Linked DNA regions of Homo sapiens: region 2 is linked to region 1. The links are contacts of gene promoters, found by promoter capture Hi-C in blood cells and fetal thymus (Javierre and others, 2016). All regions are on one chromosome and are shown on one strand. Each heading gives the region's core, a stretch centred on a gene start or on the middle of the fragment in contact. The rest is flanking DNA. Distances are from core to core; before and after follow the strand shown. Region 1 holds the start of RPTOR (regulatory associated protein of MTOR complex 1). Region 2 has its middle 25 kb from the start of MIR4730.

Evidence for each region. Contacts are between HindIII fragments. The CHiCAGO score rates a contact against its expected background, and 5 or more counts as called.
Region 2: a fragment that was not itself captured here is called in contact with the fragment with the promoter of RPTOR in region 1 in 1 of 17 cell types (endothelial precursors); the score reaches 5.0 in endothelial precursors.

The regions. Positions count from the first base shown.
Region 1 is chr17:80,542,142-80,546,774 of GRCh38, forward strand. RPTOR (regulatory associated protein of MTOR complex 1) reads left to right here and starts at 2,697. Exons shown (of 34, transcript NM_020761.3): 1 at 2,697-3,650. The coding sequence starts at 3,489. It also overlaps the pseudogene RPL32P31. RefSeq lists enhancers at 2,391-3,217, 2,551-2,910, 3,191-3,290, 3,218-4,044. The HindIII fragment of the contact is 2,750 bases long and covers 2,384-4,633 here.
Region 2 is chr17:80,441,970-80,446,602 of GRCh38, forward strand. No RefSeq gene overlaps it. Among named protein-coding and RNA genes, the nearest start is that of MIR4730, 25 kb to the left of the region's middle. RefSeq lists enhancers at 1-169, 3,662-4,444. The HindIII fragment of the contact is 5,416 bases long and covers 79-4,633 here.

The sequences.
Region 1 (4,633 bases), core at 1,447-3,946:
GATTCTGGCTCTCTTCCTTGGCGCTGCCTATGGAGGGGGCAGCCATCTCCTCCTTGGCATCATGGCCGCCCTCAGACCCCCTGTGAAGCCCAAGATCATCAAAAAGAGAACCAAGAAGTTCATCCGGCACCAGTCAGACCGATGTGTCACGATTAAGCGTAACTGGCAGAAACCCAGAGGTATTGACAACAGGGTTGGTAGAAGGTTCAAGGGCCAGATCTTGATGCCCAACATTGGTTATGGGAGCAACAAAAAAACAAAGCACACGCTGCCCACTGGCTTCTGGAAGTTCAGTCTACAACGTCAAGGAGCTGGAAGTGCTGCTGATGTACAACACTTCTTACTGCGCTGAGATCGCTCACAGTGTTTCCTCCAGGAACCGCGAAGCCACCACAGAAAGAGCCGCCCAGCTGGCCATCAGAGTCACTGACCCCCATGCCAGTCTGCGCAGTGAAGAAAACGAGCAGACAGCTCATGTGCATGTTTTGTGTTTAAATAAAACTGTAAAAACTGCAAAAAAAAAAAAATGCAGATTCTGAATCCCGGTCTCCCTGCTCCCCGATCTGGGGCTCTGGGTTGGAAGCTGGGCATCCTGAATTTTAGTTTCCTGGGCGATTCTGACCACCTGGTGGGTTTGGACTTCAACGTGCTCACTGACACCTTCGTTTAGAATTTCAGATACGAAAAATGGATTTCCCAAGGTCACACACGTTATAGGTGAGGAAACTGAGTCTCACACAGATTCAGTGGGCTTTCCCAGGTCACAGAGCTAGTTAGGGATGAATGGGTTTAGCGTTGCTGCTTTTCTGTAACTGTGACTTCCTGCAAGAGCTGCTGGAATGCAGCTGTCTACAGCCACCGGAGGTGGGGAGCAAGGTGACAAGGCAGAGGACAGGAGTGATTTTGTTGCCTTCAGATGAGAACGGGGTCTTCCTAAGACCCTGCATCCCTGAAGCCTCTGCTGGTAACTGTGAGGATAGTCTCTGCCAACAGAGAGGGTGCCCTGAGTTTCAATAGGAGAATTGGCTCCATGGGGTGTAATAACCAAACGAATGTGCGGAATGACAATGATTTAATCCTGTAGCCTTTATTAAAGGCTTGCTTTGTGCTGGGTGAGAAAGGTCTGGGATTGTATTCTTCATTCTCATTTTGAAAGGAACACAAATGCCATCAAGATTTTGATATGGATGGCCACATGTGTCTAAGCCCCGGAAAACCATCCTGAGAGATCAAGACCATCTTGGCCAGGATGGTCTTGAACTCCTGACCTCATGATCCACCCACCTCAGCCTCCCAAAGTGCTGGGATTACAGGCGTGCACCACCACGCCTGGCCTCGTTTTATTCTTATTTATTTATTTATTTATTTATTTATTTTTGAGATGGAATCTCACTCTGTCACCCAGGCTGGAATGCAGTGGTGTAATCTCGGCTCACTGCAACCTCTGCCTCCCAGGTTCCAGCTCTTCTCCTGCCTCAGCCTCCCGAGCAGCTGAGACTACAGACGCACGCCACCACGCCCAGCTAATTTTTGTATTTTTATTAGAGACGGCGTTTCACCATGTTGGCCAGGCTGGTCTCGAACTCCTGAACTCGTGATCCACCCTCCTCGGCTTCCCAAAGGGCTAGGATTATAGGCGTGAGCCACGGTGCCCTGCCTACATTTGGTTTTATAGTCCACCTTACACAGTTCTCTATACATTGTAAATGAGCCAAATTTCCTGAATTGAAAAAGAGAGTCACACAAGAGGCTTGCCTCCACGCACAGACATGTAGTTTTAGATGTCTGCACGTGAAGCTATATCAAAATAAGAATAAACTACTGCTACCAAGAAGTGGGAAAAAAATTTAAAAAGGATAAACTGCTCAGAAAACGAAACAGATTAAACAAAAAATTGTATTAGATGAAATTTTTTTTCATCGAATCTTGCTCCAGACTCTTCTTCTGTTGCTTCAGACCCTTCTTCATCTGAAGAGTCTTGCTCTGTCTCCCAGGCTGGAGTGCAGTGGCACGATCTTGGCCCACTGCAACCTCCGCCTCCCGGGTTCAAGCAATTCTCCTGCCTCAGCCTCCTGAGTAGCTGGGATTACAGGCGCGCACCACCACGCCCAGCTAATTTGTGTATTTTTAGTAGGGACGGGGTTTCACCATGTTGGCCAGGCTGGTCTCGATCTCTTGACCTCGTGATCTGCCCGCTTCGGCCTCCCAAAGTGCTGGGATTACAGGCGTGAGCCACGGCGCCCGGCCTTTCACTTGGTTCTCTATGAAAAAATTAAAGAGAAAATCTGATTGACACTGTGGAGGACACTACACTCCAAAAAAAAAAGTACTATATTTTCTAATATTATCAGTGCTTTTTAATATTTTCTAATATTATCAGTGAAGCTTTTGCCGCTTTTTCAAAATCTGGAAGAAACAAGGCGGTTGATTCCTTTAATTTCAGGAGCATGTAACTTCATTTATAATGACAATGTTTTTGAAAAAATAAATTAAACCGACAGTTTCATTTGTAGGATTGACTTTAATAACACGCCTCTACTGAACAAATGGCGATTAACTGGGGAAAACGGAATTATGGTAACCGAGGTAACGGGGTCGGGGACTCTTTCTCCTTCGCTGCATGCTGGGTGGCGGGGAGAGACCGCTCTGAGGAGGTTTGGTCTGTCGGCCACGCCGTAGGCCGCGGTGCATTCTGGGTCCTGGCAATATGGCGTCCTCCTTGATGGGCTGATGAGATGAGTTTCACTGTAGCTCCAAACCAGAGGGCAAAGCTCCCATGACCCAATAAGCCCACATTGTCCCTTTCCTCCGTGGTTCCGTGTCGCCCGTTTCTCAGGACTCGTTCTCAGGCAGGAGAGAGCCTCGGGGCTGAAGGCCAGGACCAGCCAGGCCGCGCGGACCTGAGGTTGAGGAACCGGGTGCAGGCGAGCACGATGGGCCGGTCGTGGCTCTGGTTGCAGCAGCTCAGACGAGTGCGGGACCCGCAGGGCTGAGAGTGGCTGGAGGAGACCCAGGGCCCTTTGAACCCGATCCCTTGGCCGGAGACCTCAGCCCAGTCGGCCCAGTGGGCGAACCGGCACCAAGAGCGGCCTGCCTGTCTTCGGAACTGCTGAGGCGGTGGAGGCCGAGAGCAGGGTCATCGTGAGGCCTGAAGTCTCTTACGCTTTTGGCAGCTCCCCTCGCAGCCCCTCTGGAAACGTACAGCCTCAGGAGCAGCCAGTGGCTTGGGACCTGGGGTGGTGTGTGTCTGCGGAGCTTCTTGGGCTGCCCCATTTCCTAGCGGCCCCCACCTCCCCACTTCCCGCTCAGAGTTAGAGATAAGGATCTCAGACTTTTGCCTGAGTAAGGGTCTCCGCACTCTTTATCCATTTGGTTTTCGATTTCCCGTTTTTGTTTCTTATTTCACCAATTCTGGTACACGCTAGTTTTTAAGGCTGGAGGTTCTCGAGCGCTTGCTGCCAAGGACTCCCCCACCCCCTCCCCCACTGATGGAGTCCGAAATGCTGCAATCGCCTCTTCTGGGCCTGGGGGAGGAAGATGAGGCTGATCTTACAGACTGGAACCTACCTTTGGCTTTTATGAAAAAGAGGCACTGTGAGAAAATTGAAGGCTCCAAATCCTTAGCTCAGAGCTGGAGGATGAAGGATCGGGTAAGTGGATTCTGAAGGCACCCCTTGAACTTGGTAGTTTCCCCAACAAAGAAAGTTTACAGCCCGAAAAGTGTCCTTGGGAAAGCGCCGACATTTCCCCCTAGCCACACGTTGTAAGTCAACTAGAAAGCAAAAGCCATTTCAGACTGCAGTTTTTGGTTGAAAATGGAAAATGCTGTTTTGGTTAGTCATTATTCACTGGGTAGTGTTAATTCAATTCCAACTAAGTTCTAATTCAGATAATAAAAGTTAAGCAAATTTGAAAATAGAGCATTGCGAGTATTTACATGCTCTTTGGCATACTACTTAGTTCTGTAAACACTTAGAGGAAGGACAACGTGCGATATAATCTTTATACCCACATGATTAGTCTACTTTTTAAAATATCCAAGCTGGGTGAAGTGCAGAAGTCTGATATACTATGCTAGGAAATGAGATTACTGGAAAATGTTCAACTAGTAACAAATTAGTGCAAAGTTATTATAAAGTTACACTGAACTTCATTCTAGTCTTCTAAACAATTTCTCTTGAAGCTAGATTTTCCTCCTTTTATGTAGTGTCCTGTTGCTGTAACTTGGAAACAGGATTTCTTTAATCGTGAGTTAGGGTATGAGGCGTCGAGACTTGGGTGCAGGTTTTAGGGTGTCCGCATGGTGTTTGGAGTGTGGAGAGTGACTCACAAGCAGCTGGTAGGAAAGAAAACAGCCGAATTTTGTTGGATTTGTCCTTCATAAAACACCCATCTATTTCCTGGCCTCAAAAGCAAAAGGGTAGTACTGCTTCTCCTCTATGCACACTTATAATTTGTCTTTTTGTAAGTTATTTTCTCCCTCCAGGCTGCTTTTATTTGCACATTTCAGTGGTATAAAAGAGGAAGTTGGTGTTACAATGTTTGATTTTCTCTAGGCTTATGTATATGTTTATGGAATATTATTGTTTTTTAGTATATGATGTTGAACATATATAAGATTACACTTCTGGGC
Region 2 (4,633 bases), core at 1,537-4,036, 100 kb before region 1:
AGAAGGAACACCTGGTTGAGAAAACCGAGGTCAGGTGACCTTCTCAAGAAGGGTCAGTGGCTTCAGGATCTCTCATAAAGCTTCATCTCCAAGGCCCAAGGAGAGCAACAGTGTCCCATCTTGTCTCCAGGTAATTCTATTCCGGTGCCAGCAGAGAACAGCGTGATTAAGCCTCCATTATTAACTTGCCAATCTTGTTTCTGGGGCACAGACGCTAACGGCTTAGGGGACCCAGTTGGCATATAATGAGGTCTCCATGACAAATTACTTGGTTATCAATTAACTATCTGGGGAAATGTCAAGCAGGATCCATCATGCTGGCAGGAAGAGAGAGCCAATTAACCCAGGGCAGTTCATCCAACCCACCGTCGCTGCGTCCAGCAGGGCCAGGAATGAGAGAAAGGGCCTGTGGAGCCCAGAGCAGGGCAGTTCCTCCACCCCCCCAGGGACGGTGTGACACCGGCTGCGGCTACACTGGTGGCAGCTTCTGCAGTCATGCCTCGCGTGCTCGGCGCACCACTCTTGCCTGTACCTGTCTCTGTCCATTCATTCATTCATTCCACAGTCACCTGCATGTCAGACCTGGACCAGGCACGGATGGGAGAGGTGACTGAGGGCTGAGGTTAGGGAGGGACACACGTGCAGACTGCAGACAGGTGTCCCTGTCTTGTGTGGTCTCTGCAGTCAGCAAGATGGGTAACAGCATCCTCAGGACAGGGAGGAAAGAAGAGTTCATTCTAAAGGTGGTGGGGGGACAGAGAGAGCATCATAGCTGGGAGGAGAGAAGAGTTCATTTTAAGGGGGTGGGCGGGGGACAGCATCACAGAGCTGGGAGAAGAGTTCATTCTAAGGGGGTAACGGGGGGACAAAGCATCACAGAGCTGGGAGGAGGAGAGAAGAGTTTGTTCTAAAAGTGGGGGGCACAGAACATCATAGAGCTGGGAGGAGAGAAGAATTCATTTTAAGGCGGTAAGGAGGGGACAGCATCACAGAGCTGGGAGAAGAGTTCATTTTAAGAGAGGGTGACAGAGTGTCTCAGAGCCAGGAGGAGGAGAGAAGAGTTCATTCTAAGGTGGGGGACAGAGCATCACAGAGCTGGGAGAAGAGTTCATTCTAAGGGGCGGGGGACAGAGAGACACAGAGAGACTCTGTGACAGCATCACAGAGCTGGGAGGAGGAGAGAAGAGTTCATTCTAAGTGGGGGTTGGGGGGTGGGGGCAGGACAGAGTGCATCACGGAGCTGGGAGGTGGAGGAGGAGAAGCCAGGTCCCTGAGACAAGGGGCAGGGTGGGTGGCCACCAGGCAGAGGGTGCCCAGGCACAGCAGGGGACGGGGCTGCTCCAGGCTTGGGCAAGGGACCATTGACTGTGCACTGTCCGGACCTGAGCAGAATCTGGCTCTGCCGTCGCTGTGCTGGGAGACCTTGAAACAGTTTAGTAAAACCTCGCCGGGCCTCTGTTTTCTTATCTATAAAATGGGGATAATAACCCCCAGTTCTGGGAGTGTTGTGGGAACTAACACTGTGGCCCCCACTTGGTGCTGGCTGAACCTGGTTCCTCCTTCTCCTCCCTACAAGAGAGGCCTTGGACCCACCTCACTGGTGAAGGCTCCCAGGGTGCACATGCCGGAGCAGAGGCGCAGGGAGGAGGGAGGCATCCTGGAGGAGGTGGCTTGGGCTGTCCTGGAGGAGGGAGGTGGCTTGGGCTGACGGCCGGCACACGGACGGGCCCGAGGCCGAGTGGCAGGGTCGGGGACTTTGGTCACTTATCAAAGTCAAAGCCCAGGACTTTTTGGGTTTTGCTTTGTTTTCAGCAAAGGCCCTTGGGTCACCTGCGATGTGTCCCACCCTTGTGAGAACCAGTGACGAAGCCCTGGCCCTACCCTGTCCCCTGGCCTTTGCCTGTGCCCCCACCCCGCCCCTCTGGTAGCCCCCTCCCCTTGCCTACTTGGGGGTGATTGGCAGCTGCCTCTTCCCAGCCCCCCAGGCCATGGCACGGAGCCTCAAGCCTATTCATGATGCGGACATATGGCACCTCCACGGGGGGCTTGGAGGAAACTGCCAATTGCGAGAGTGCAGCGTGTCCCCATTCCAGCCCTGCCGGAGCAAAACAAACGCAAGTCGCGAGGGGAGCAGAGGCGGCCCGGGGGCGTGCGCATGTGTGCGGGTGTGCCTGTGTGTCTGCAGCTCACACCGCGGGGGTGCCGGGAGGAGGGGGGCTGCCCGATCCTTGGGAGTCTGCGGCTTTCAGACGCTCCTGGGGGCTCGGCTACTGGGGTCCTAAGGAGGCGAGCTGGCCCCCTCATTCCGCCCCGCAGGCCGTGCCTCTCCTGTCTTGAGGCCGCTTTTGCCTCCCCACACCTCTTACCCAGGACGCTGGGCTGGAGGCTGTGAACAGCCCTGGGAGCAGATCCCAGAGATGCTCTCATTCTTTCCGGAATCAGGACGTTCCCCCCAGTGTCAAGCCCAAGTCCCCAGGGCTCCAGGCTTAGCCAAACTCTTCTGTTTTATTGGAGGTGGCACCACCCCCATATCAGTGGGGGCACTGCAGCCACCAGTGCATGGCCCCCTAGGCCCCTGCCCCATGCTGGGCTCACCCTCCTGTGCCCAGCTGGGGACCCAGGCATGACAAAGCCCTGCTCCTGCGGCAGGGGAGGGCGTGGGGGGGTGGGGGGGCGTGGGGAGGGAGTGGGGAGGGCTGCAGGGGAGGGCGTGGGGAGGGCGTGGGGAGAGGCTGGCCAAAGGCCAGGCTCTGGGGGTCTCAGCACACTCCTCTCCCGACCCAGGGCTGGAGGCTGCTGCCATGGAAACCAGGCCTGTCCACCCACTGGCCATGTGCATCCAGGGGCCATGGCCACCACCTCCTAGCACCCAGCTCTGCCCCCCACCCCCATTCGGGGGAGTGAGAAGTCAGGAGAGAGAGGAAGGGCGCTAAGCAGAACCTGGAGGGTGGGCCTGGGGTACCAGAGGCTGAGGTGCTCAGGCAGGCTAAGGGTAAGGGGCCTGTCCCCTGAGCCCCAGCTGAGGGTCTAACCCTCTGTGCTGCTGGGAAGCTCCAGACCCTCTGCCACAAACCTTGGCATGCACTTCGGGCAGTGGCAGCCCCTGTGGGGTGTGTCCGTGGCACCCATCAGCCTCCTCCTTGTGGCTGGGGCCTAGGAGCAGAATCTGCACGCTTTGGGCCTTCCCCAGGGAGTCAGGGAGGCGAGGGTGCAGCCCGCTAGAGAGTGGCCCATCCATCAGTTCCCTCCCAGGAGCGCTGGCTGGGGATGCTGGTGGGGAGGGGCTGCAGGGGCGGCTCTGACTCCAGCTCTGCCGACACCCTGTCCCCAGCACTGGCAGGCACCTGGGTGTCCTAATCTGTCTATAGCCTGGCCTTGGACGAGGGGCCTCTGCCCCAGCTGGGTGGGTGTTTCAGGGCCCAGGCCCCCACCTTGGCTGGCAGCGTGCACACCCGCCACAGGCACTGGGCCGACCAAGTTGCAGGCACCACTGTGCATCCAAGCATCTGCTGCCGCCGTCTCGGGGCAGATGGGCTGCCAGTGAGCTAAGTGTGTGCGGGGGAAGGGGTGCCATAGGAACCCCTCCCCGCCGGGAGCGCGGGGGCGGGAGAGGCAGGCACCCGCCGGTGGGGGAGCCGGGAGCCATCAGAGGGAGGGGGGCTGGGATCACATGGGCTCCAGGGTTGGGGAGAGGCCCATGCAGCCCGTTCCTGGGCCAGGGGCTCAGGGGATCTGGGCTCAGCCTCGGAGGATGCAGAGCCTTAGAGGTCCTGATCAGGGCTGGGAGACCTGTCACCCCTGGCCAGGTGGCCCTGGGCAAGTCCCTTCCTTCTGCAGGCCTCGGGCCCCAGGAGTGTGTGTGGATGGTCTAGAGGGTGCCTTCCCGCTCCGGAGCCCTGTGCCTTGGCAGGATGAAGGCGTCCTCCGCACACAGATGCCTGCCATCTGCAGGGGCCTCCTGCCAGGGGACACCAGCACACCCTGCCAGACTGATCCGGGGCACGTGGGCTACACCTCCGCCCCTTGCTCCAAGGCTGTGGCTCCCAGAAAGGCTGGGGCCATGCTGTGTGTTAAGTGAGGCCACTTCGGAGTTTGCCAGCTTTCCCCAGTCCCTGCCTGGCCACAGCAGGAGCCCCACGGTGAGGGGACCTGCCAGGCTGGGCAGGATGCTGGCCAGGGTAGAAGATCCTGCCCTGCCCCTGCTGCCCCCCAAGCCCATCACACTGTATCCAAGACCCCTCAGGAGTACTGGGATCCGAGGAAGGAGGGAGTGTGGGAGAGTTGGCAAGGAGACAGCCCAAGGCCACCAACAGCCTTGGAAGCCGATTTGTTGGGGCATCAGGAGGGCCTTGAGCAGAGAAGACGACCCCACGGACAAACCCTGCAGCATCCCTGCTCCAGGAGAGGGGTGCCCACCCGGCCTCAGGGGGCTTTTCTTTCATGATGGCAGTAAACAGAGCAAAGTTGTCTGTGCTCAGTCCCTGTCCTGTGCCAGAGGCTGCTCTGAGAACTCAGCTCTTCTGTAATTGGCACAAGAATGCTAAGAGCCACCCTTATGCCCACTAGACAGAAAAGGAGACTGAGGCTGAGCAAGCTGGGGCAGCTGGCCCCGGCCAGGGGCCAACGAATGGCT